5 separate regions of the Homo sapiens genome follow, and all the other regions are linked to region 4. Evidence: promoter capture Hi-C in 16 types of primary human blood cells and fetal thymus (Javierre and others, 2016). All regions are on one chromosome and are shown on one strand. Each heading gives the region's core, a stretch centred on a gene start or on the middle of the fragment in contact. The rest is flanking DNA. Distances are from core to core; before and after follow the strand shown.

What was found. The method cuts DNA at HindIII sites, captures the fragments that hold promoters and counts their contacts. A CHiCAGO score of 5 or more calls a contact.
Region 1: a fragment that was not itself captured here is called in contact with the fragment with the promoter of TMEM132D in region 4 in 1 of 17 cell types (naive B cells); the score reaches 5.8 in naive B cells.
Region 2: a fragment that was not itself captured here is called in contact with the fragment with the promoter of TMEM132D in region 4 in 2 of 17 cell types (M2 macrophages and M0 macrophages); the score reaches 6.3 in M2 macrophages.
Region 3: a fragment that was not itself captured here is called in contact with the fragment with the promoter of TMEM132D in region 4 in 2 of 17 cell types (total B cells and naive B cells); the score reaches 6.3 in total B cells.
Region 5: a contact is called between a fragment that was not itself captured here and the fragment with the promoter of TMEM132D in region 4, in 2 of 17 cell types (M0 macrophages and M2 macrophages). The highest score is 9.8, in M0 macrophages.

What each region holds. Positions count from the first base shown.
Region 1 is chr12:128,741,134-128,745,927 of GRCh38, reverse strand. No RefSeq gene overlaps it. Among named protein-coding and RNA genes, the nearest start is that of SLC15A4, 80 kb to the left of the region's middle. The HindIII fragment of the contact is 2,576 bases long and covers 1,436-4,011 here.
Region 2 is chr12:128,273,167-128,278,052 of GRCh38, reverse strand. All of the region lies in intron 1 of TMEM132C (transmembrane protein 132C), which reads right to left. Among named protein-coding and RNA genes, the nearest start is that of TMEM132C, 8.4 kb to the right of the region's middle. The HindIII fragment of the contact is 321 bases long and covers 2,252-2,572 here.
Region 3 is chr12:128,235,730-128,240,651 of GRCh38, reverse strand. No RefSeq gene overlaps it. Among named protein-coding and RNA genes, the nearest start is that of TMEM132C, 29 kb to the left of the region's middle. The HindIII fragment of the contact is 730 bases long and covers 1,071-1,800 here.
Region 4 is chr12:129,902,559-129,907,417 of GRCh38, reverse strand. It overlaps TMEM132D (transmembrane protein 132D), which reads left to right and starts at 3,393. Exons shown (of 9, transcript NM_133448.3): 1 at 3,393-4,157. The coding sequence starts at 4,079. The HindIII fragment of the contact is 8,442 bases long and covers 1-4,859 here.
Region 5 is chr12:128,690,374-128,694,707 of GRCh38, reverse strand. TMEM132C (transmembrane protein 132C) reads right to left here. Exons shown (of 9, transcript NM_001136103.3): 6 at 674-879. Among named protein-coding and RNA genes, the nearest start is that of SLC15A4, 130 kb to the left of the region's middle. The HindIII fragment of the contact is 1,940 bases long and covers 314-2,253 here.

The sequences.
Region 1 (4,794 bases), core at 1,474-3,973, 1.2 Mb after region 4:
AGGTAAAGCCCTGTCGTCTTCATCTCTTCTGTTCCCAGTCCTGCATGCATTCTCTCTTCTCTTGGTCACAAAACCATATGATGTTTTGGGGGATGAACCCACTCCACTTTTAGTCTATGAGGTTTTCCTTGGCTCTGGAGGTAGAGACATTTGACTAGGCAATCAGAACACCGAATACCCTTAGCCAGTGATGACTTTATAAGTAGACATGGATGCAGCGATCCAAAAATATTCAATTATATGTATTATTATTTTTTTTTCGAGACAGAGTCTCACTCTGTCGCCCAGGCTGGAGTGCAGTGGCGCAATCTCAGCTCACTGCAAGCTCCGCCTCCCGGGTTCACGCCATTCTCCTGCCTCAGCCTCCCGAGTAGCTGGGACTACAGGTGCCCGCCACCGCGCCCGGCTAATTTTTTGTATTTGTAGTAGAGACTGGGTTTCACCGTGTTAGCCAGGATGGTCTCGATCTCTTGACCTCGTGATCTGCCCACCTCGGCCTCCCAAAGTGCTGGGATTACAGGGGTGAGCCACCGTGCCTGGCAATTATATGTATTTTTTTAATGGTTAGGGAAAAAATGGTTCTTTTTCCTGGAAGTATGGAGAGGCTGTGAAGCAATCTGGGCATTCCCGACAGCCATGGTTCTGCCTGCCTGGAAATGCAGGTAATGCAGGAAATGACAGAACTGAGAGACAGAGAGAGTGACCACACTCAGACCTTGTATGAGCACCTGGATCCAGCTATGCCTGAAGCTTCATAGATCTTTAATTTCAGCTAGCCTCCTCCCTCCACCCCCAAACTTTCTCTTCTTTAGGTCACTTCGAGTTGAATTTCTTATGTCTTGGAACCAAAAGAGTCCCGACTCATATAGAAATCAGGTAAGACTTTCTGTTCTTTCTCCCCTCTACTCCTTGTCTCCCTTTCTGTCTTATTTCATCTTCTCCAGTTCTGCTGTTCTTACGTGTTTTCCCTTCCACTCCAGTTTCTAGCTCTCTGCTAATAATATCATCATGTTTCCTTCAGAGACAAAGTGAATGAATGGCCATTGGTGTTTTAACCACATTAGAATGAAGACAGGCAGGGGGTTGATCCTTGGTCCAAAAGCTCTGCAGAGATTTCCAAATTAGGCTTTATTTATCAAGCATGAATCTCTCCCCTTAAAAGCCAATTTTTCACACACAGAAGGACCTGCACTGAGGAGGCCTGAGATATCTGGGAGTTAATTTTATTTTTGCCTACTCACCAAGGCTTAACATTTACACTCAGGTTTGTGCTTCCAAAGGGAGAGAGGTCATCATTCTCACTCTCTGCATTTCTGTGATTCTCATGAAATGGAATTATATAACCCTGAAGCCTGCAGTTATGAGTGAATATGTTCCAGTATTATTCCGGGTATTTGTGTAGTAAATGTTCTGCTGGAAAAAAATAAAGCAAGCTTAGTTTAGAATTTCTCCTTTCTTACGGTAGAAAATCCCTAATGAGGGCCTGTAACTGCAGCCTCACTCAGGGTCCCTTCTGGATAATACACATTTGCTGTGCTTATTCCCTGAAGAAAAGGAAAAAGAACTTTGACCCTCTGTTTTGGGTAGATGTCGATGAAAGTATTGATAAACTTGTTTCTGAAATAGGCACAATTACACTTTGGCCAGGAAATGCAGGGAAATTGTGTTCTTTTACATGAAAATCAATTACGGAGGCAGCAGCTTCAGAATAATTAGAACATATTAAAATTTTTATGAAATACCAATTCGGACTTCATGAGTGAGAAGAGCCTGAGTACGGACCACAAAGCCCGAAAGAGGTTTCCATGGTAACACCACTTCCCCCCACAATGCTGGTGAGCCCTGGCCATTGCAAATGAGAGGCACGCTCTTTTGAGTTCAACCCACTTCCCTGATTGAAATCCCCCTTCTCTGTCTTGCTCCTGGAGAGGCCATCCCGGGTTTGCTTTTTAAAATATCCCTTCGGCAAATATCACTTGTGACTCCTCAGATGCACTGGGCTTTTCTATTCAAGTGGGAGAAGAGGCAGCCTGAAGGTTCCAGAGTGTCTCTTGGCCCAGCTCACCATCAGTATCAGGAAGATGAAAACGGGGCCGCCCAAGGGCTAATGGAGTCTCAAACTCCCATTCGATTGGGTACCATTGGCCTCACCCCAGACATTTGTGGGGCCCAAAGTGAGAGCATCAGTGGAGGTCCACCTGCCACAGATGTAAATGCTTAAAGGTTACTAATCAGGTGAACAAACAAAATGCGTTCCCTATCCTTGCCTTCAATGTAGGACAGGTGAGCCCCAAAGTTGGGGCTTAGGTTGGAAGGGTTCTCGGCTTTGCCTAGGAAAGAATTCAAGGGCAAGCTGGTGGTGTTAGACAGGAATGTTTTACTGAATGGTACTGCTCCTTGTGGGGCAGGACTAACTCAGGCAGTGCACCCAGAGTTGACAATGTACGGGCTCTTGGCAATTGCATTTATACCTACTTTTAATTATGTGCAAATTAAGGGGAGGGCTACAGCAAATTAAAGGGTGGGTGAGTTAGAACTTTCTAGGAAAGGGACAGTAATTTCCAGGTTGTTGCCAAGGAAAGGGGTGACAACTTCCAATGTGTTCCCATGGTGTTTGTAAACTGTCACGATGCTGGTGGGAGCCTCTTATGCCAATGAGCAATGAGGGCAGCTGGGGATGGCTTTTGTCACCATCTGCTGGTTCTGCCGGTTCTTTCACTTTATCCTGACGGCACCAGATCCTGTTTTGGTCAACGGGGTTGTCACCGGAAAACAAATCCTGCTGGTCTCTTTCCTCACTTTGACACTATGCCTGCATAACAACCCAGAAAGCCAGGCTCCAGTGGAAAACCCTTTGACTCCCTGTAGTTGCACAGGACATGGTACATACAACAGCGAAAGCCAGCCTCAGCCTTGATGCCCGGCGGTGGGTTGCTCACCTTCCCTGCCTCCCGCATCTTTCTCCTGCAATTGGAGAGGCCTCACCTGTCTGCATGCAAACACCTGTCCCCTCCCTCCCGCATCTTTCTTCTGCAATTGTGGAGGCCTCACCTGTCTGCATGCAAACACCTGTCCTCAGAAGCCAGCTCTGCTTAGATTCCCTGCAAACAGCTACTCCCTGGGTGCCTCTCTGGGCCAGGCTGGGTACATGGGCTTCATGGTCCTCTCTTGGGAGGTCAGCCTCAAGGTAGAGGCCCTTACTGCTCTGGAAATAGTCCTGGGGCCATTGTGCAGAGGATTCTCGGGTCCAGCTCTGTGGAGCATAGTCTAGAAGTGGATACCAAAGCCTTGGTGGACACCTCCCGTTGGCCTGTGAATTAGTCTGCTGGGGTTGCCATAACAAAATGCCACAGACTGCATGGCTTTAATAACAGAAATTTATTTTATCACAGTCTGGGGGCTAAAAGTCTAAGATGAAGGTGTCAGCAGGTTTGGTTTCTCCAGAGGCCCCTCTCTTGGTTGGGGTCAGCCTTCTTCTCTCTTTCTCACCGAGGCCTCTCATGGTCTTTCCTCCGTGCACACGCATCGCTGGTGCCTCTGTGTGTCCAAATGTCTTCTTACCACCACACCAGTCAGACTGTATTAGGGCCAACCTAATAGACTCATTTTAACTTAATCATCTCTTTAAAAGGTCCTATCTCCAAACGCAGTCACATTCTGAGATATTGGGGGTTAGGGCTTCAACAGATGCATTTTTAAAGAGACATAATTCAGCTCATCATAGCCTCCTTCACAGGGAGGAACACAGGTAAATGATAATGCAAGGGCAGAGGAACACTGGAGCGGGGTCCTCCGAAGTGTGGGGCCAGGGCAGAGACCCACCGTGCCCACGTGTAAGAGCCAGACTGCACTTTTTATTTGTTTGCTGCTGAAGCTAATGGTCTGGCTTCCCTGCTTTCGGTGACCTCTTTTCACTGCTGGACCATTTAAATGGCGTCCTCAGATCCTAGGATCATATCTATCCATTGCACTAATTCCGTGATGAGCTCTCTCTGGGTAAATCACAAAGCTTTCTTCGTAGATCCCCCAGGTGGGAGTGCAGCCAACATTAGGCCAGTATTAATGGGCCATCAGCACAATTGAACATGGTCCGCTCATAGAAAGTCACCGAAACTGTTGTTAGATTAATCATTTTCAGAACTAAAGAAAGGAAAAAAAAAATCTGCCAGTGATATTGATGAGAGAAGCAGATTTCTAGCAGTTTCCAAAAGAGAAGGCATTTTCTCCACAAGGGAAATGCAGAAAACGGTCGTTTTGGATAGAAAAGCTTTTCTTGATTGATCAAACGATTCAGAGTTTACATTTTAGGCCAAGGGAGCACTGAACTGAGGTTGCTTTTTTTCCTCCTCTCAAGAGACAGCTGAGTTTGACCCTTTGCTAATATGGAAACATCAGTGAACCGTCGATTTTCCTTTGCAGACGGCCAGCGAAGTGAAAATCGGTCCAGCAGACACATGCTTAACTTGTCAATCTGCACCGGTCAGGTACCATTGTCTGACAAATCCCTCAGGATTACATCTTGTCCAATTTTTCTCCCCAGCAACAAAGAGAATATGATAGAATTTGCTGAATGCAGATACTCAAAGAAAACTCCCCACTTGTAGACAAGCCTGTGCGTTCCTGAGGCCCACTGCAGAGGTTTCTCATCCAGTTTCAACACAATAATAAAGAACAAATAAGCAATTCTTTGTTGTAGCAATTAGGAATGCTACTAGTAATACCAATATCTGCACTGAGTAGTTTCAAAGAGCTGAGCAGTGGGTGAAGTGTTTTGCTTGTATTATGAGAATATCT
Region 2 (4,886 bases), core at 1,163-3,662, 1.6 Mb after region 4:
GTGAGCACCTGAGGTTGAAAGTAAGGTCTCCTTATCTGCAAGAGGAGGTCAGTGATAGAAGATGCTACTATTGCAGTGCCCATCTCTTATTGGAGGGATGTTGGATGGCTGGATATCAATGAGAGAAGAATGAATGAAGGTCAAGACAAGCAGAAAAGAGGAAAAGCCACCCAGAGGTAGAGATGTGATGAGAGATAAAGAAGGCCACCTTCCTAATTTGAGATGTCCTGGACTTTGTTGTTTGTGCATAGGCAGGAGAAACGAGCTGACCTCCCATGTGGGCTGCCCCCACAATGTGGAGCACACCCGTGAGAAGTGGCCATCCAGTGGCTTTTGATTCCCTTCATTTTGCTCATTTGGTTGATGAATAGGGTTTTGCCTGCTGGGCAGTCATTCCCCATCTTCTGAAACAGCTCCACCTGTGTTTGGGCATCATCACACCTTCTATCTTAGTGGTGTGGGTGGAAGTGACCTCACCCCCAGGCTCCCAGAATTCCTGTGCCCAAGATCTGCATCATCAGAAAACCCCATTCCCTTAAGTCCGCAGTAAGTGGGCGAAAGGCTGTAGTGAGTGCCAAAAATCTGCCCCTGCAACTTTTTCTACAACCGTGTGAGAAGTCACTTTCTTTTAGTTGAGTATGCTGTGTGGACAGAATATAAGCCTGGAGGTGCTGTTGATAATGATGGCCTCTCCAAAATGAAGACAGCAAAGAGGACAGAGCAGCCAAGAGATTGGGAGAAACAGAAACTGTCCAATGACATCACTTGACCCCTGGATCCAGCTGTGCCTGAAGTCTATCTGGACTTTGCAGTTACTGAACAAATTATTTTTTTCCTTCTTTTGACTTTGGTATGGTTTGCTTAAGCTGGGAGTTTTGGCATTTGTAACTAGAGGAATCGTGAATAAGAAACTGAATAATTTGGTGCATATTCAAAAAACATTTCCATCAAACAGGGAAAACTGCTTCAGTGTGTCAAACCCAACCTCATTGTTTCCAGTGGAGACAAAAATCACATTTTCAGGAATACCTTGTTTAGGGCATAAGTAAGAGCTTTTTCTTTTTTGTTTGTTTGTTTTGTCTTAAAATCATCACTAAGCTGTAACTCAATGATAAGACCAGAAACTAGCCTAGAATTGTGTGTGTGTGTGTGTGTGTGCATGCACGCACATGCATGCACACATGTGTGTGTTGAGGCAGGAGGCAGTTTTCTTCAAGTTCCTTTATTTTGGGAATATAAGAATCCCTTGTTGCCTCAAAGACTTGCTAGTAGAATACCGCGTGCCAAAGTGGCCAGCATTTGATCCACATTTCTACAGCATCTGGGTCCGCAGAGACAGTGAGGAAACACAGCAAAAGTAAACATAATTATGGGGCCAGAGGGACCAATTGAGCAAGAAGGATGAAAAAAGTCAACTGCAGAGTTGGGAGAAAAAATTAACCTAAGAGAGAAATGGGGCCTGCTCTGGATGGTTTTCATGACTCTGAGAACTCAGAAGGAGAAGGGAAGCTTAAGATCGTGTCAAGAATATCCTAACACTAAGCCAGATGGAATTATGCCTAAGCTGTAGTTAAGCATGAAGTGGTCAAGGGATGTCTCAGAATATAAACCTTTGGCTCTCTGTTTAGGTCTACAATAAACAAACACCTCACACTTGACCAGTTTTCCTATTCCCCGATATTGTTGAATGCACAGTTCTGTTTTCTTTGCTTTGTGTTTTAAATTATTCTCAGTTATTTTTAAAAAATATCTATGTAAGGTTTCCATTGTATTGTACTGTGGATTCTTCTTCTCCATGGCTTTAATAATACAAATAATGATGGCCCTGATTTATTGAACTTTACTATATGCCAAGTCTTACCGCATGCAATAGTTTGCATGGCCTCAAAAGCGAATGTCCACTTAGAACCTGTGAATATGTCCTTGCTTAAGAAAAAAATCTCTTTTCAGATGTCATTAAGGATCTTGAAATGAGATCATCCTGGATTACAGTGGGTTATAAATCCAATGACCGGTATCCTTATAAGACAGACAGGTAAGGATCATTTAGAATGGGAGGCCATGTGAAGACGGAGGCAAAGATTGCTGTGATGCTGCCACAAGCCAAGAGCACCAGGAGCCAAGAGAAGCTGGAAAAGGCAAGGAAGGATCCTCCCCTGGGGGCTCAGCACAGTGCATGGCCCTGACAACATATGATTTTGGACTTTTGGCCCCAGAATTGTGAGAGGACCAATTTTTGTTACATTAAGCTTCCATGTTTGTTACAACTGCCCTTGGAAATTCATAAAGCGTGCTAAGTATCTCTAGTCCACTTTTGCATTAAATATTGTCAACCATCCTATAAAATAGATATTATCCCTTCTTAGCACAGTGGTCCCCAACCTTTTTGGCAAAAGGGACCAGTTTTGTGGAAGACAATTTTACATCGGACCAGGGGGTGGGGGGATTGTTTCAGCATCATTCAAGCACATTACATTTATTGTGCATTTTATCTCTATTATTATTACACTGTACTATATAATAAAATATTATATAACTCACCATAATGTAGATTCAGTGGGAGCCCTAAGCTTGTCTTCCTGCAACTAGACCATCCCATCTTGGGGGCTAGTGGTGGACAGTGACAGATCATCAGGCATTAGATTCTCATAAGGAGCATGCAACCTAGGCCCCTCGCATGCACAGTTCATGATAGGATTCTAGCTTCTATGAGAATCTAATGCTACCGCTGATCTTACAGGAGGCAGAGCTCAGGCAGTAATGTGAGGGATGGGGAGCAGCTATAAATTCAGAGGAAGCATTGCTCGCTTATCCATCACTCACCTCCTGCTCTGCAGCCTAGTTCCTAATAGGCCACGGACCAGTACCAAACCATGACCAGAGGGTTGGGGAACCCTGACTTATAAAACAAAACTGAGGCTCAGAAAAGCTGTCCTTTATTTTTTCACTACATACACTAGGTCTTAGGGCCAGTGGAATGAACATTGGTTGATTTTTCATCCAGCATCCATCACACCTTCTTTTAGTAACAGCTCTTCAGTTTTTCTCTGGGAGGAAAATCCTTTCCCCTTGGATACAAAATGATGGAACTATTAATGAGGCTGTCTTATACCTTTCTAGATAGAGATGGGCCTACACAATCTGTGTGCATCCCTGAGAGTTAGAATCACCTGAAGAGCTTTTAAACAGTAAAACTGATCAGCCCTGCCTCCACACCCACCCCTACTCCATCCCTACCAAAGAGCCTGATTCCATTGGTTTGGGATAAGGCCTGGGGATTGGTATTTTCAAAATTCCCCAGGTGAAAAGTTTAGCCAAGGTATAGGCTTCTTTCACCCTGGAATCTAAAACATGAGCACTGAGACAAAAATAAGTAAAATGGTTCCTGTTTTCCAACTGCGGTACCCTAAAGAAGCCAGACAATTATAGCTACAGGAACCCAGCACCTGGCAGCTTCCTGCTCATAGGAAACCTCGTCCTTTAGCTTTCTCTGGAGTCAAGAGCTTCCAATCTCTTATAACTTAGTAATAAGCAATTAAGGTATTAAGATGTTTCTGTTGCTAACAACCAAAGACTTCTGACCAATTCATCCAGGAACTGGTGGAACAGAAGCTCAAACTTAAGCTGTTGTTTCTATGATACTGAACCTTCCTAATTAGTCCATAAGTGATAACTCACCATGTTGCTGGCAAGATGAAGGGTATTGAGAGAAGAAAGAAAAAAATGTTATACATAGAAAAGACATGGTCTTCTATATTAAGTCTTTGGGTTACTTTAGGATTCCAGCCATATGCAAGTGTAAACTCAACATTCCTAACACATTATTAAGAACATCCTTAATCAGGAAGAAAAAATGCGTACACATTGTGGAAGACAAGAAATCAGTCTCTCTGGGAGAATAACTGGAATCCATTGTCTTGGAAATTTTGCTGATTTAGACTCCAGATGGGTTGTATTTCACATTTGCTTTCTCCTTGAATGCAGCAACTTCTAAGTTCCTAAAGGCATATAAAACAAGGGAGCTCAGTGCACAGGTAGGAGAATAACATCTTGAAGAGAAACTGGTTTTAAGAACATCAGAAGTACCCATTTAGAAACAAAAGCAACACCATTAATACAATTTTTATTCTTCTTTAATAGACATAAAGATAATTTTTAAATGACAATTCTCCCAGTCACACCTAGGGTACGTGAGTGCATGTACTTGAAAACATAGTAGAGGAAAACAGTGTAAGGAATATACTGTTGTAAATTTCTTATATAGCATACAAAGCACCGTAACATAATTTGAATGCAAGTAATGATTAATTAAAATTGTATTTTGTAAGCCATAGAGCAATGACTAAAATTTAAAAAGAAGTATAAATAATAAGCCAATAGTGGAGATAAAATGGAACCATAGAAAATACTCAATATAAAAGCTGGTAGGGAAAGAAGAATAAAGAGCAGATGGAACATAAATAAAACAATGAGCAAAATAGTAGATCTTAATACAAATAGATGAATAATTACATTAAATATAAGTGGTCTAAACATTACACTTAAAAGACAGAGATTATCAGATTGGATAAACAAGTGAAACCCAACTATATGCTGCCTATAAACAACCAACATTACATATAGAGACATAAGTTAAAAGTAAAAAGATGAAAAAGATATTACCATAAAAATACCAATCAAAAGAAAGCTGAGGTGGCTATATTAATATCAGATAAAATAGATTTTAGAACAAGAAATATTTCTAAGAATAAAGAAAGGCATTACATAAAGGTGGATTGATTGAACAACAACAAAAAAATCCTAAGTATGTACCTAAGACAGTGTTCAAAATACATGAAACGAAAGCTGTCAGAGCTAAAATAAAAAACAGACAAAACCATAACATA
Region 3 (4,922 bases), core at 186-2,685, 1.7 Mb after region 4:
TACTTTCTTCTTCCATAATGGGTGCACAGTTTACAGAGTGGTTCTGAGAAGATCATGCTGACTTTAGTAAACATGGAAGATTTTCTCCTAATGAAAAGTAACCATTGCTTAATTTTTAAACCATTCCTTACATCTTAAACAGAAGGTTTGCTAAGAAAATTGTATGTTTTCAGGATTTTAAGATACATCTTCTAAGACACTTCTGAGAGCCATCTCAAAATCTTGTCAATTTTCTTAGCAAACCTTCTGACTATACAACTAAAAAAGATTCTAAGTTTGTAGTTCCTGAAGGCTGGCTAAGAGGTGTTAACTGGGTGAGAATGTTAATTCCTGACATGTTCAAAGCTTGTGTGTCATTTTTAGGATATTAATAATCTTGAGATATCAAATATGGCATTGCTCAGAGATCAGAAGTTACAGAGATGCTGGGAATTTAGGCAGGTGGTTTAACAATCCTGAGAGCAGCAAGAACCTCAAATACAACGAAAATGGGGCAAGCAACTTTAAGGCATATGACTTCAACCTCATACCCTGCCACCAAGAAGTGAAACTTAACACACAGGCAAATGTATCTACAAGTCCAAAATCTTTGAGATGGCATTTAAAATTTTAAATTTCTTTCCAGCGACAGAACGCTAGGACCTTATTTATCTGCCCGAAATGCAAGACTCTTGACAGCAGGGACCATGCCTGTCTTGTTCACTGAGTATATCCCCAACAGTTGACACAGTATTTGGCCCAGCTTACACCCTGAATAAATACTTGTTGAATGAGCTATGAATAAAGCAGCCCCTATATTAGAGACCACAAACTTAAATCTAGGGAGCCCCACTCGCCAAGATGAATGCCTTAAATAGAGCAGGTGTCAGACAGCAAGGAAAGGTGGGGACTGTGGCAAATGGAGACCTGCACCATCCCGGTCAAATGGTAGCTAGTGTTCAACTCTGGCTTAATGTTCCCAAGTGCAAATGGGGAGCACAGTGTGGCTGAATTGACTGAGTTTTATGTAAATTGCCCCAATGGTTAAGTGTTGGATACTAATTTCATTTCTTTAAAACACAAAATAAGCTTTGAAAAGGCATCCATGGTCCAATGAGTCTTTTCTTCTTTCTATTTTGCTGTATTTGTCCTAAATAAACAAGCAGAACCCCAGGGGGAAATTCCTGCATAAAATTCATCACAGAAACCTTGTTAGCAAGTTACGCTTTCCATTTTCATGTTTCTACCAATGCAGACAGGCTTAAAATCCTGAAAATCCCTGGCACATGGGTGGACAAAACTTATGGATTCTTAGAAGCACGGCTCTTCCTCACAATTAAAAACCTGGCTGACAACTGTCATGAGATTATACTTGGACAAAGATGTATTGGTTTGGGCACTGGAAGGAAGTGAGGCTGCTTGAGATTTGGTCATAAATTAAAAGCAAACAAAAGGACACTTTGGAATCAGGAGAGAACAGAAGTAGGGAGCGACTGGGGTCTTCATGCAGACATAGAGTCGCTGCTGTCCACGGAACCCATCCTTCCTCCAGGGCTGAGGACTCTGCTGGGCTGGGGCTATGGCTACTCCCTTGTTACAGAAGGGCTGGCACCATGAAAGAGGCCTCTCTTAGGACTGCGTCAGTTTCCCTGAAAAAGTAAAATTCTCTTCATCATTGTCACCCATGGAGAAAAACATTTTGGAATGTTATATGAAAAATGCAGACACTGCAATGAGATGCTGGATGTTGCTGTTTGGTTAGGATCTGTCTCAGTTTCCTGATTGGTATTCTGGGGCCGCCATAACAAATTACCACAAGCTTGGTGGCCCAAAACACAGACACTTACTCTTTTACAGTTCTGGAGGCCAGAAGTCCAAAATCAAGCTGTGGGCAGGTCTGTGCTCCCTCCAAAGTCTCTACAAGATGAGGTTCCTGCTTCTTCCAGCTTCTGGTCCTGGGGCATTCCTTGGCTTGTGGCTGCATCCCTCCCATCTCTGTATCTGTCTTCACATGGTCTTCTCCTCTGTGTCAGTGTGTCCTTTTCTGTGTCTTAACAGAACAGCCTCACTGGCTTAAGGGCCCACCTGAATCCAGTATGACCTTGTTACAGGAAAGGGGTCCTGATCCAGATGCCAAGAGAAGGTTCTTGGATCTCGCACAAGAAAGAATTCAGGGTAAATCCGTAGAGTATAGTGAAAGCAAGTTTATTAGGAAAGCAAAGGAATGAAAGAATGGCTACTCCATAGACGGAGCAGCCCCAAGGGATGCTGGTTGCCCATTTTTATGGTTATTTCTTGACGATACGCTAAACAAGGGGTGGATTATTCATGCCTCCCATTTTTAGACCATATAGGGTAACGTTCTGCAGTTGCCATGGCATTCCTAAACTGTCATGGCGCTGGTAGGAGTGCAGCAGTGAGGACAACCAGGGGTCACTCTGGTGGCCATCTTGGTTTGAGTGGGTTTTGGACGGCTTCTTTACTGCAGCCTGTTTTTATGCAAGGTTTTTATGACCTGTGTCTTGTGCCAACCTCTTATCTCATCCTGTGAGTTAGAATGCTTTAACAGGGAATTCAGCCCAGTAGGTTTCAGCCTTATTTTACCCAGCTTCTATTCAAGATGGAGTTGCTCTGGTTCAAATGCCTCTGACAATTTTACCACCATCTTTCCCTTAATTACACCTGCAGAGATTCTACTCCCAAATAAGGCAACATTCTGAGGTTCTGGGTAGACATGAATTTTGGGGAGACACCATTCAACCCAGTACTGGATTGAAAGGCAGAATCATGGGGGGATGGGAAGGGGAGATGATGTATTGTTCCCTACCCCCTGTATCTGTCAGCATCTCAGTAGGTAAGAAATACACACTCAAACTGGGAATGTGGAGAGAATTTTATAAAGGGACTGTTTATAAAGGTGTGGTCGGGGTTTGAGGAAATCAAAGAAATAATGCAGATTTGGGGCTGGGGAGAGTGAGGAGCTGTGATCACTCCCAGACTTAAGGGGACAAGGGGAAGGGGTGGTTCTGGGAACACGGAACAGATAAATAGAGAGTAAATTCGATGGGCGCTTTGGCCTTGGGTAACAGATGCGGGCCGGCCAGGATGCTCTCACGGGAGGGTGTGGGGAATAAATGCCCAAACTTACTTTCTTCCCACTCTCCCGTCTTCTGTTGGTGCCTCCTATCAGCCAAGCCCAACTGGATGCTGAAGACAGAAGCCCATGGAGGCCACCTCCCTGGGCACAAAGATGGGGGGAGCAGGGGCTGGGGAGAATCTGCCAGGAAAGCAGAAGATCTCAAACTCAGCCTCTCAGCTTGGAATTGGTGGAGAGATAAGCGCAGGAAGTGGATGGATGCAGAAAATCCACCTGCTTTATTGTTGCATCAGCTGGATTGGAGGACATGACCTGACTGGTGGCCAGGTTGGGGTGTTCTCATCTGCTCCCTCCAGAATGGACTGCACCCACCTAGAACTAGCCCCCTCCTTACAGGCCTAGAGGAGAGCAGAGGAGAGGCGGGTGGGTGGGGAGTGGGGAGGGTGCTCTGAAAGGAGGGTAGGGAGGGGCTGAGCTGCGCCAGCTGTTCTTCCTCCCAACCTACCTGTCAGATAAACACTCCTCCTCCGAGGGTGGGAGTCAGTGAGGGCAGAGAGAAGGGTGGGTCTTGCCCCAGCAGTCCTCCTCGTGCCAAGGCTGAGAGGAAGCTCACATTATCATGGAGAAATGGGAGATGGGAAGATCAAGCGGCCTCCCTGCTAAGGCAAATGTAACAAATTATGTATAGCAAGGGTGCACAAACTACAGTGAAGAGGCCAAATCCAGCCCTCTACCTGTGTTTGTAAATAAAGTTTTATTAGCACACAGCCATGCCCATTATGTATGTATTGTCCATGACTGCTTTCCTGTTACCATGGCAAAATTCAGTAGTTGTGACACAGACTGTACAGCCCTCAAAGCTAAAAATACTATCTGGTTCTTTATGGAAATGGTCTGCCAACTCCTGCCTATATAATTTGGAAAATCTTTTCAGTTGTCCCCCAAATACAGCATAGGATGCCGAGGGTACTGGGAGATTCCCTGTGACAGGCTCTTAGGAGTTCAGACCATCTGAGGGGAGAAGAAAGTCACATTTCCTATCCTGTCCTCACCTTGGGGACAAAGAACAGCACCCTGCCCACTATTTAAACTGTTGTTTTTCTCTCTCTCAGAAGAAAGGATATAGTTAATTTTGTGTATGTGAAATGTGTATCTAATGCAAATCTAATTTTTGTTAAAATTTTATGAAATTTTGTATAAAGAAAACAATGAAGTGAGCCATTTAGAAGCTTTGAAGGAATAAACCAGTGCATTTAACATGTCATAGAAAATAAGGGAAAGAGCCTTTGTCTCTGACACCATCACCGAGTCCAGCACAAACCCTGGGTCTCTTCGACCCTGGGCTTCCCACACAAATATACATATTCATGTTATGTATCACGAGTTGATTATTCTGTTACTTGTGGTCAAAAGCATTCCTATTATGCATATAACTTGAATCCCTATAAATAATATCAGGTAACAGTACAAATAAAATAGACACAGAAAAAAAAGTCAAAATGATATTAAAATGTTACCAGGGGCAGGACCATGGGCAGTTTCTTTTTTCCTTTTTACTCTCTCTTACAAATTCTTCACATTGAACAGCTATTTCTTTTATAATCTGAAAGAGAACGCATCTGCTATTTAATGGAATGTTGTTTGACAATCTACAAAACCAGTTGCTTCCCAGTAGAGCTGCCTTTCCCTGGAGGGTACTGAGTGGGTGTTTCCAGCAGCATCTCCTTGGAGGCTGCCTCTCCAGAGAGCACTGCAGTGGGTGGAGCTACAATTCAAGGGGCACCATCGTAAGTGAGGGGTGAGAGTTAATGCCCCTTCCCTGAAATTTCAGGATTTCAAGCAGGCT
Region 4 (4,859 bases), core at 2,144-4,643:
CTGGAAGGCTCACCTTGTAGCAGCTGCACCATCTCAAACACAGGGTCCACTCTTCTCCCAGGGCAGGGCAGGTGCAGAATGAGGAGTCACAGGTGAGCTTTTCACTGCCCCACCAGAGAAATGACCCCCATGACTTCTGCTCACATTTAGTTGGTCAACTGCAAGGGGCTGAGAAGAGTAGTCATCCATGCGCTGGGAAGGAGAGAGTGACAGGTCTTGGCAAACACACACCTTCCTCAAGGGCACAGCATGGATTCCGCTGAGGTGCTCCTTCTGGAAGGATGATCTCCTGCTGGCCTTACCAGGAAGGGTGTGCAATGTTCCCAGTGTTTACAGTGCCCTCAACATCAGAAGGCTTTCCCCACTAGTGAAAGAGACAGTTGATTGAACCAGGCCTTTCTATTTCCCAGTCATTTCATGAATTTTGGAAAACTGGGAAGACAGGGAGTTTCAAAAAGTCTCTTCTGCATCTTCAGGAGGGATTGATCTGGTAGCTCTCACTTCATGCTAAGGTTTCCCAAACTTCATTTCTCACCATCTTCCGGAGTATTGTCATAGAGAGAAGACGGTGCCTGCACCCGTGTCAGTAGTGATTGCTAAATCCATTACTCATTTCCCATCTTCATAAACATACATAACTTGATATTTTTTAAACAAAATGCATCACCAAGTAAAAGGAGAGAAAACAAAAATAATAATAATCAAAATAAAAACAAATCGATGTTAGTAACTTGAGCTAGATGTTGTCATTGTGCAGAAAGAGCTTCCTTTTTTGTTTAAAAAACATGGACATTTGCAATTACTAAAAGGCTGTTCCGGAGTAGCTCAGGCCTGAGCCTTTCTCCTGGATGCAGTCAGAAGGACTGGAAGAGAATGGCTTCAGTTTTACAGGAGGCCCCATCTTTAGAGGGCCTGAAAGTGTCCTCTCATCCACCAGTGGCATAGCCCCTGCAGTACTTGAATTCCAGCTCCTTTCTGCCTTTATCAACGCTCAAAGTTGCCATTTCTCAAAAACTGCTACAGGGAATGTTTTTGTTTTATTGAAAAATAACAACAAAAACTGCTTAGTGTAAAAGCCTCATCCACACAGCATGAACAATTAGTGCAATTTAATTACCGACAAAATTAGGCTTACAGCTTGATTTATGGCCCCGCAGATGAAACACATATTCTTGGAGGAAAGCAGATTTCTTACAAGTAACTTGAGAGAGACAAGGCAGGCGATTTTGATGGGAAGTTGTCCTGGGGCAGGGGCTGGAGTTAGGGACCTATGAGCCCTCAGTGTCCATCTCCAAGTCTAAGTTTTGCTTCCCCACAATTAGCTGTGTTAATTACCCAAAGAAGATTAGATGTACCAGGGAGAATGGCATACTGGAGAGAGAAAAAGTAAGAAGCCATTCTTGCATCTTATTTTAGCCACTGATTAGGTATCTGAAGTTGCATCTTCCCAAAAAATCTTCCATACCAAAGAGTGGAAAAAACTTTTGTTTCGCCAACTACGCATAATGAAGAAACCGTTTAACATTTTAGGCAGCAGCTGGAACTTGACAGTCACCTTTTGTCTTCACATTACAGATAGAGAAACCTTCTGCAATGGCAAAAAGAAAAGTTATTTGATGATTGCAATTCAGGGGAAAAACTCAATTTGATTTAGAGAAACATAAAATGATTGTTTTTAATAAAGAACAGGGACCACTTGTTTCTAGTCAATATGTCTGAGAAATGTCTTACAAATAGACTCAGTGTCACAAATAGATGATTTACAAATAGACTCAGACCCACTGTAGCGTTAAGGATGGAACCTGGATTATGCATTCAGTGCGGGCATCAATTTTGACACTCAGAGACCAGGTGAAGGTGTCCAAGAGACGAAAGCTCAGCTCTCTCATCACTCAGGTGAAGGAGAAAGGGGACCAGTGGTTCCAGCACGTGTTCCGCAGGCCGGCAGCATCAGCATCACCTGGAACTTTTTAGGAACGGAGATCGGAAGTCCCACCTTGACCTGCCGAGATAGCTCTGGGGTGGGCCCAGCAACCCAGGTCTAACAAATTTTCCAGTGACTCTCCTGCTGGTTCAAACTTCAGAAACAGTGAAAGAGACAATCTCTTAGGGTCTTTGCAGCGTCGACTCTTAGGAATTTTACAGGAGAGCAATACAAAGAGAAAAGGCAACAAGTTTAAGAAACAAACAAAAGAAAAAACAGAAAGACAGATATATTCAGATAAGTAGATACAGAATAAAAGACAAGAGCACATCTCAAAGGACATGAACCCAGAAAAACAATCTTCGGTAGAACAGCAGTGGCTTTTTTGATCTTCCTTGAAACTTTGAAAGCTAAAAACTCTTAAAGCATTGGTATATTTCTGCAACTACAGGCATACAGGATAAAAAAGTCCATTGCCCCCTCAGTCAGATGATAACGACCCATTTTTATCTACTGAGGTGAATTCACCTCATTAGATTCAGGGCTTGTTGGTTTACAATATTCCTTAAAAATTCTGAATGCTTTTCTTCCCTCTGAGCTTTGATGGGGTTAATTTAAAGGCTCTCGTGGAGCAAAGCAGTTCTTGGGCTACAAATTACAGGACGGTGCTTAGGGATCTTGGTGTGGGAATGTCTTAGTTGGAGATTCCGGGCGGTGTTGAGAATCATGTCTTTTATCTTCTCAAAGCAATGTTGTCTCCTAATGGATCCATTTCCTTTCCCAGTGAGCCCTGGGGAGCACACGACATGTTTCTAGGGACACTAACTTGGGGGATCGCTCTGGGAAGGGGCTTGGGGCCAGCATGACCTCAGTGTGGCGTGTCAGAGACTTCCTCACTGCGATCCCTGGGAGATGCGCAGGGCGGGGCGAGGGCCCTTCTCCAGCCATCCTTGCGCTCTCCCTGGCGAAGAGCCTCAGGTGCCCCCGGGCTGGAGGACCTCCCCTGGGCCTGAGGTTTTGATGACGACGAGAGGCCGGTGGCCAGCTGGACACCTGTTGGGAGAGTGGGTGGCTCCGTCCCCGGGGTGCGCCCGCGCTGGGAGCCCTCGCCCGCCGCCACCGCGCGTCCGCGCTCGCAGGGAGGGTGGCCGGGAGGCTGGGCGTGGGGCGGCCAGGGGGAGGTGGGATTTACTTTGCGGATTGGGGCTCACAGCTGTCACTCCGAAAGGGTGGGGCTTTTTAAAAGCAGACAAATTTTTAAGGCGAAAGCCCCAGCCGGCTCCGGGCACCGTGGCGATCGCCTCCGTTCCGTTCCGGATGCGGTCCTTGCGGAGCGGAGCCCCCGCGCCTGCTGGCAGGAGGCAGCTGCGTTGCTCGGCCGCGTCCCCGAGCCGGCGGGCCCTCCTCCGCGCACATCTGGCCCGCCTCCCCCGGGCGCAGGGGGGAGCCCCGCGTCTCCGGAGCCTGCAGTGCGCTCGGCGCGCGTAGAGCCCCGCGAGCCCCAGCCGGGCCCGGGGCCGGGCGGGCCGAGGCGGCGGCCGGGGAGCAGCCGCACCCGCCAAACTTTGGGTGCCGGAGCGCGCGCGCGCCCGAGCCCCGAGGCGCAGCGGCCGGCCTGGGATGGGGGCTGCGGGCCAGGGAGCCCCGGGCCGCCCAGCGAGCCCGGCCACCCGCCCGGGGGGCTCCGAGCCGCCTCTGCCCGCGTCCCGGGCTCCGCAGCCCCGCCACCCCGGCGCCGCCTGCGCCAGCGCCCGCTAGCCAGCCCGGGAGCAGCTGGAGCCGCCGGAGCCCTGCGCCTGGAGGCGCCCCTCCTTGGGCCACCGGGGGCCACTCTTCGCTCGGGTAAACAGGAAAGGAAATACCCCCTGTGGATTAAAATTTAAAAAAAATTCTGTTGGGGTCGAAGGAGGGAGGTGGGGTTTGCCTGCGCGCGTGTTGGACTCCGGAGAGCAACTCAGGAGCCCGCGCGGTCGTCGCCTCCCGGCCTGGCCATGGACTGGCGGGAAGAGGGAGCAGGGCGCCCGGGCTGCTCGGGCCCCTAGCCGGGCGCTCCCTCGCCACCGGCCCCGCTGCGGGCCTCTAGGGGACTGAGACGGTCTCTTGTTCGCCTGGACGGCGCCGGGGAGCGGAGGATCTGCGCTCCGGGTCTCCAGGATGTGCCCGTCTGAGATGGGGACGCTGTGGCACCACTGGTCGCCGGTACTCATCAGCCTGGCCGCCCTGTTTTCCAAAGGTGAGGACGCCGCGGCCGCCAGGGCCCGGGGACTAACTTCGCCTGGAGTGAGTGTGTGGGAGTGTGTGGAGGATGGGGGCGGCCGGGAGAGAGGGCTCGTGTGCAAGTGTGTGTGCGCGCTTGTGTGCATGTGTGTGTGCGCGCGTGTGAACGTGCGCTCGTGCGGCAGCCAAGCTCCTCGGACGCCCCTTGGCCGAAGGTGCTTGTCCTGGAGCACTTGGGTGGGAGGCCTTAGGTGAGACTACTAAGGAGCCGAAAGGAAAGGAAGGCTGTTTCCTGAAAGCCTTTTCTGTAAAGGGAGAGGGCGTGGGGACCCTTGAGAGGAAAGGTGGCCTCTGGAGGGCCGAGCCGGCTGTCGGGGGAGGAGGGGATTGAGATGACCAGGGAGATTTCTGGAATTTGGGATTGACTTTCCCTGGTGGCACTGACCTATTTGGAAATAATTTTGGAGCACTCCTGTTGTATGGGAATACTATTTTGTGTATTATAGGCTGCCAAAAATATAGCCTGGGGGGCGGCTCTGAAGAAGGGGGATGGGTTTCTCCAGGTCTGCCGCTGTGAGGTTTGGGCACAGGGTCTGGCGCTCACCCTTCCGTAGGGTGCTGGGAGCAGCAGCGGCCCCGCAGGGTGCACGTGGAGTTTCAGCTACAAGTTGTGACCCGAATTTTCCCAGCGGAGCCCTGACTTGAAGCCATGTGTCAA
Region 5 (4,334 bases), core at 34-2,533, 1.2 Mb after region 4:
TTCTTGAAATGCTCTCTCTTATGAGAAAGGCCCTGGTGCCTGGGGGACTGTCAGGGAAAGAGCCCTGATGGTCTGGGGTGGAGCATTCCAGGCAGGAAGCTGTGAACTCAGGAACACCTTCACTTAGCTAATGTCTGCTAATCCGGGGGTCACAGGGCTGAGAAAACAAGACCCCATACTCTTGCATGTGACAGACAGACAGTCCGGAATCCCAAAAAAATTAGAAGCTTTTGGCAAATAATGATTCCAGCATCCACTAGAAACACAATTAAATTTTATCCAATAATTTGATCTGCACAGAACATTTCAAGCTTATAGATATGCATAAAGCACAGGAAAGGACTGACTTTTTTTTGGAGAAAATAAACCAAACTTCAAATTACCTGGTAACCAAGATGCTAAAAAAATGTATTAACTCCATCGTGTCATTTTGGGAGAGCCACTTTCAAGAGACAGCCTCATATAAGCCCCAGTGTAGAGTGCGGACAACCTGGGTTTGAGGCAAACCTGCTGTTTAGCAGCTTTTGGGCCTGGCTGGGTTATCTGGGAGCCCTGGGGAGATTCAACTGCTGAGACAATACCAGCATCTCTTAAGCATTGGGTCCTTTAGTGTTAAGGTCAGTAAATAAAGTTGTTGTTTTGGCTCTAGGGCATCTCCCCATCCGAGGCTCACCTCTTATTGGTCACAATGGGGACCCTCCAGCCCTTTATCTGGCTGAGCTCCGTGTCAGAGACCTCGATCTGCAGGGGCAGCCGGGGCACCCACACGGTGACACACAGGGGGGCGCTCAGGTACTGGTATGTGAAGTTCACCACCGCATCCATCTTTCCTTTGATCTCTTTGCCATTGACAAAGATGTAGTCACAGCGCTCAGACACCTGCAAAGACAGAGGGAGAAAGGATGGAGGAGAAGTTCATGGAGCCTTGGAGACAATCCTTTTTTTGTTTTTCCTATTATCTTGCAAAGCACAAATGCTTATTTCTGGTTTCTCCTAAAGCAGAGCCTGAGACAAGGATTTGGTGCACTCAGTTTAATTGGGAGGTGACCCCAGGGAGCAGGGGTGAAGGAGCAGATGAGGAAGACAGAGAAAGAAGGAAACCCAATAGGAAGGTGCATTTTTTAGGCTGTTACAGGGACCATGGGCTCGGTTTTCAGAGGCTTCATGAAAAGTATCTAGAATTGTCCACTTGAGGAGTAAGAGGAGGGAATATTTTTAGCTACCATTTCTTATTCCTACTGGTTGAGGGCTTGCCCCACCCGGAACAGAAAACAGAAAGCAGATTGAGGTGAGACTGCAATCAAAAAGTGAACTTGAACTTGTACAGAACTGCAGCTGTAGCTGAAATCTGGGTGGGCTGAGTAATTTGATGTGAGCACCAGAGGTTTTCACACCCTGGGCAGTTATGTCTTTTCAGAAAGTAAGCTGCACCCACAACCCACCCCATCCAGCCTCCAAGGATGCAAAGGGCCCGTAGTGCCTTCCTCCCCAGCATGATTCTCACTAATTCTGAGGTCTCTCCCCTGCATGCACATGCAGGCCTGATGCAGGTTCTTCACGGTCCCCAGGCTTTGGCAAGGCCGGTCCCTGTGCCTGGGAGCACCTTCCCATCCCTATTTGCCTGACCTACCCCAGCTCAGGGGTTCCTTATGAGACCCCTTCTGTGGTCTTCTATGACCCCGTGGGATTATTTATATAATACGTGTTCGTTATGTGAATGGCAGATCACATTAGGGACTACCAACCTATGTTCCCTTTCCCTATGCGCCTCCCTTTCCTTTTCCCCTTTCTGGCAGATTGCTGTCTCAGGAAAGGGATGAGACAAAGCAGAAAGAAAAATAAACACACAGACTAAAAAAATAAAGGTTGCAAGTATGTGGCTTTTGTGTTCCCAGATTATTCATTCAAATATGACTCTATCTACCAGCCCAGAGGGCATTCCCAGTGTAGCAAGGAAACAGCAGAATGATACCTGTGTTCTCAAGCAGGCAGGAAGGGGCAATGTGGACAACAATGAGGGGCCATTGAAGAGGTAACCTGGGCGGACTGTGACCGGTAAAAAATGTCCCCTAGGAACTGTGAACAGAAGATTATAAGACAAGATGTGCCCTTCCCCAAGGCCTTGGCAATAGTTAAATCCCCTGGAAATTAGACTGGTATTCTGTTTCTGCCACCCCGATGAATTGAAAACTGAAAATAGAAACCAAGTTGGGTTATAGAGAAACAATATGACCCCTGTTGAATAGCCAAGCTTATCAGATGTGATTTAAATTGGTCCCATGTGTCCATATCACCTCTTAAACTAAGAAATCTTTGAAGGCAAAAAGTACATTGTGTTCATTTTTCACCTCTGGGTTCCTTACCTCAGCTGCTTATGAAGCAGGAGCTCAGTGAAATGGACATTGCATGGATGAATGGATGGAAGGATAGATGGATAGACAGATGAACAGATGGATGAATGCACACACTGATGCATAGACAGATGGACAGATGGAGGAAAGGATGAACAGATGGATGGATGGACAGGTGAATGGGTGGTGGACAAATGGGTAGATAGCTGGGTAGATGAATAGACAGATGAGCTGATGGGTGGATGCACACACTGATGGACAGACACATGAACGGATGGATGGACAGGTGAATGGGTGGTGGACAAATGGGTAGACAGCTGGATAGATAGATGAACTGATGGGTGGATGGACACACTGATGGACAGACACATGAATGGATGGGTGGACAGGTGAATGGGTAGTGGACAAATGGGTAGACAGCTGGATAGATAGATGAACTGATGGGTGGATGGACACACTGATGGACAGACACATGAATGGATGGGTGGACAGGTGAATGGGTGGTGGACAAATGGGTAGACAGCTGGATAGATAGAAGAACTGATGGGTGCATGCACACACTGAGGGACAGACACATGAATGGATGGGTGGACAGGTGAATGGGTGGTGGACAAATGGGTAGACAGCTGGATAGATAGATGAACTGATGGGTGGATGGACACACTGATGGACAGACACATGAATGGATGGGTGGACAAGTGAATGGCTGGTGGATAAATGGGTGAATAGGTCGACAGATTGATAGACAGCTGAACAGATGGACAGATGCACACACTGATGGACAGACAGATGGGTGGATGCACGGATGGATGGATGGAAAGATGGATGGATGGGCAGGTTAAGTGCTGGTGGATAAATGGGTAGATAGCTGGACAGATGGATAGACAGATGAACTGATGGATGGAAGCACACACTGATGCACAGACAGATGGACAGAGGGATGGATGAGCAGGGCCTTCCCTTCATGGGGATGCCTGCTTCAGGACAGTCATCAAGGATCTTGGGGTTGATGGACGATGCAGTGAGAGACTGAGATGACATGGAGCCAAAAGCTACAAAAACACAAGAAGTTAATTCAAAAGTTTCTAGAAAGTGCTCAGGCAGTGTTTCCTAACCTTTCTTGGGTCATTCACTCTTTTGAGAATACACATAAAGCTAATTCTTGCTGGAGAAATGCACACACATACAGTTTAGTGGAGTATTTCTGAGTTAATGAAGTCACTCGGAAACCCCTCACATAGCACTTAGCATACTAAGCTATAATTGCTGATTTGCTTATCTGTCTTCTGTCTAGATCATGTAGCTTGGAAAGAACAGAGTCCCCTTCTGGGGGGTCTGTGGCCTCGGCCAAATAACATCCAGTGCTGAATAAAGAACTCTTATAATCTGATCACCCTCTCTTTCCCCAGCTTCCGGGAACCATGGATGGCTACTCTGGGCTCAATTTTCATCTTCAACTTGCACTTCTGTTTGGAGAGGCAGCTGGTGAGGGCTGGGCTGAGAGAATTTGCTCCATCTGCTGGGGACAGTGGCAGGGAGCAGTTGGGGACAGTGGCAGGGAGCAGTTGGGATGGGAACACATGGATGGATCTTCTCATTCATGGTCAAGAGTGGTTTAAAAATGTTTACATGCTGATTAAAGAAGGAAGGCAATTTTAGTTGCCATCCCAGGCTTGTCATTAGCAGGTAAACACTGTCCTGGATCTGGGAAGGCATTAGCACAACAGTCGAGCAAGAGTTATATCAGTAATCACTTCTTTAGTCAATGTTGTAATTTACAGACCATTGACTTTTCTCATTTATTACCTTTCTGAGCTCTGGTGGGAGGAAACCTGGCTGCTCCCGAATATATAAATAATTAAGAGCAATGCCAAGGGTATGAAGTAGCCGTGCATGATAGAGCCATCGTCACTGCTATTCCTGAAGGTGTCATAAATGTCTGGGGACATCTCAGGATGCATTAATCATCTCCTAAGTGGCCAG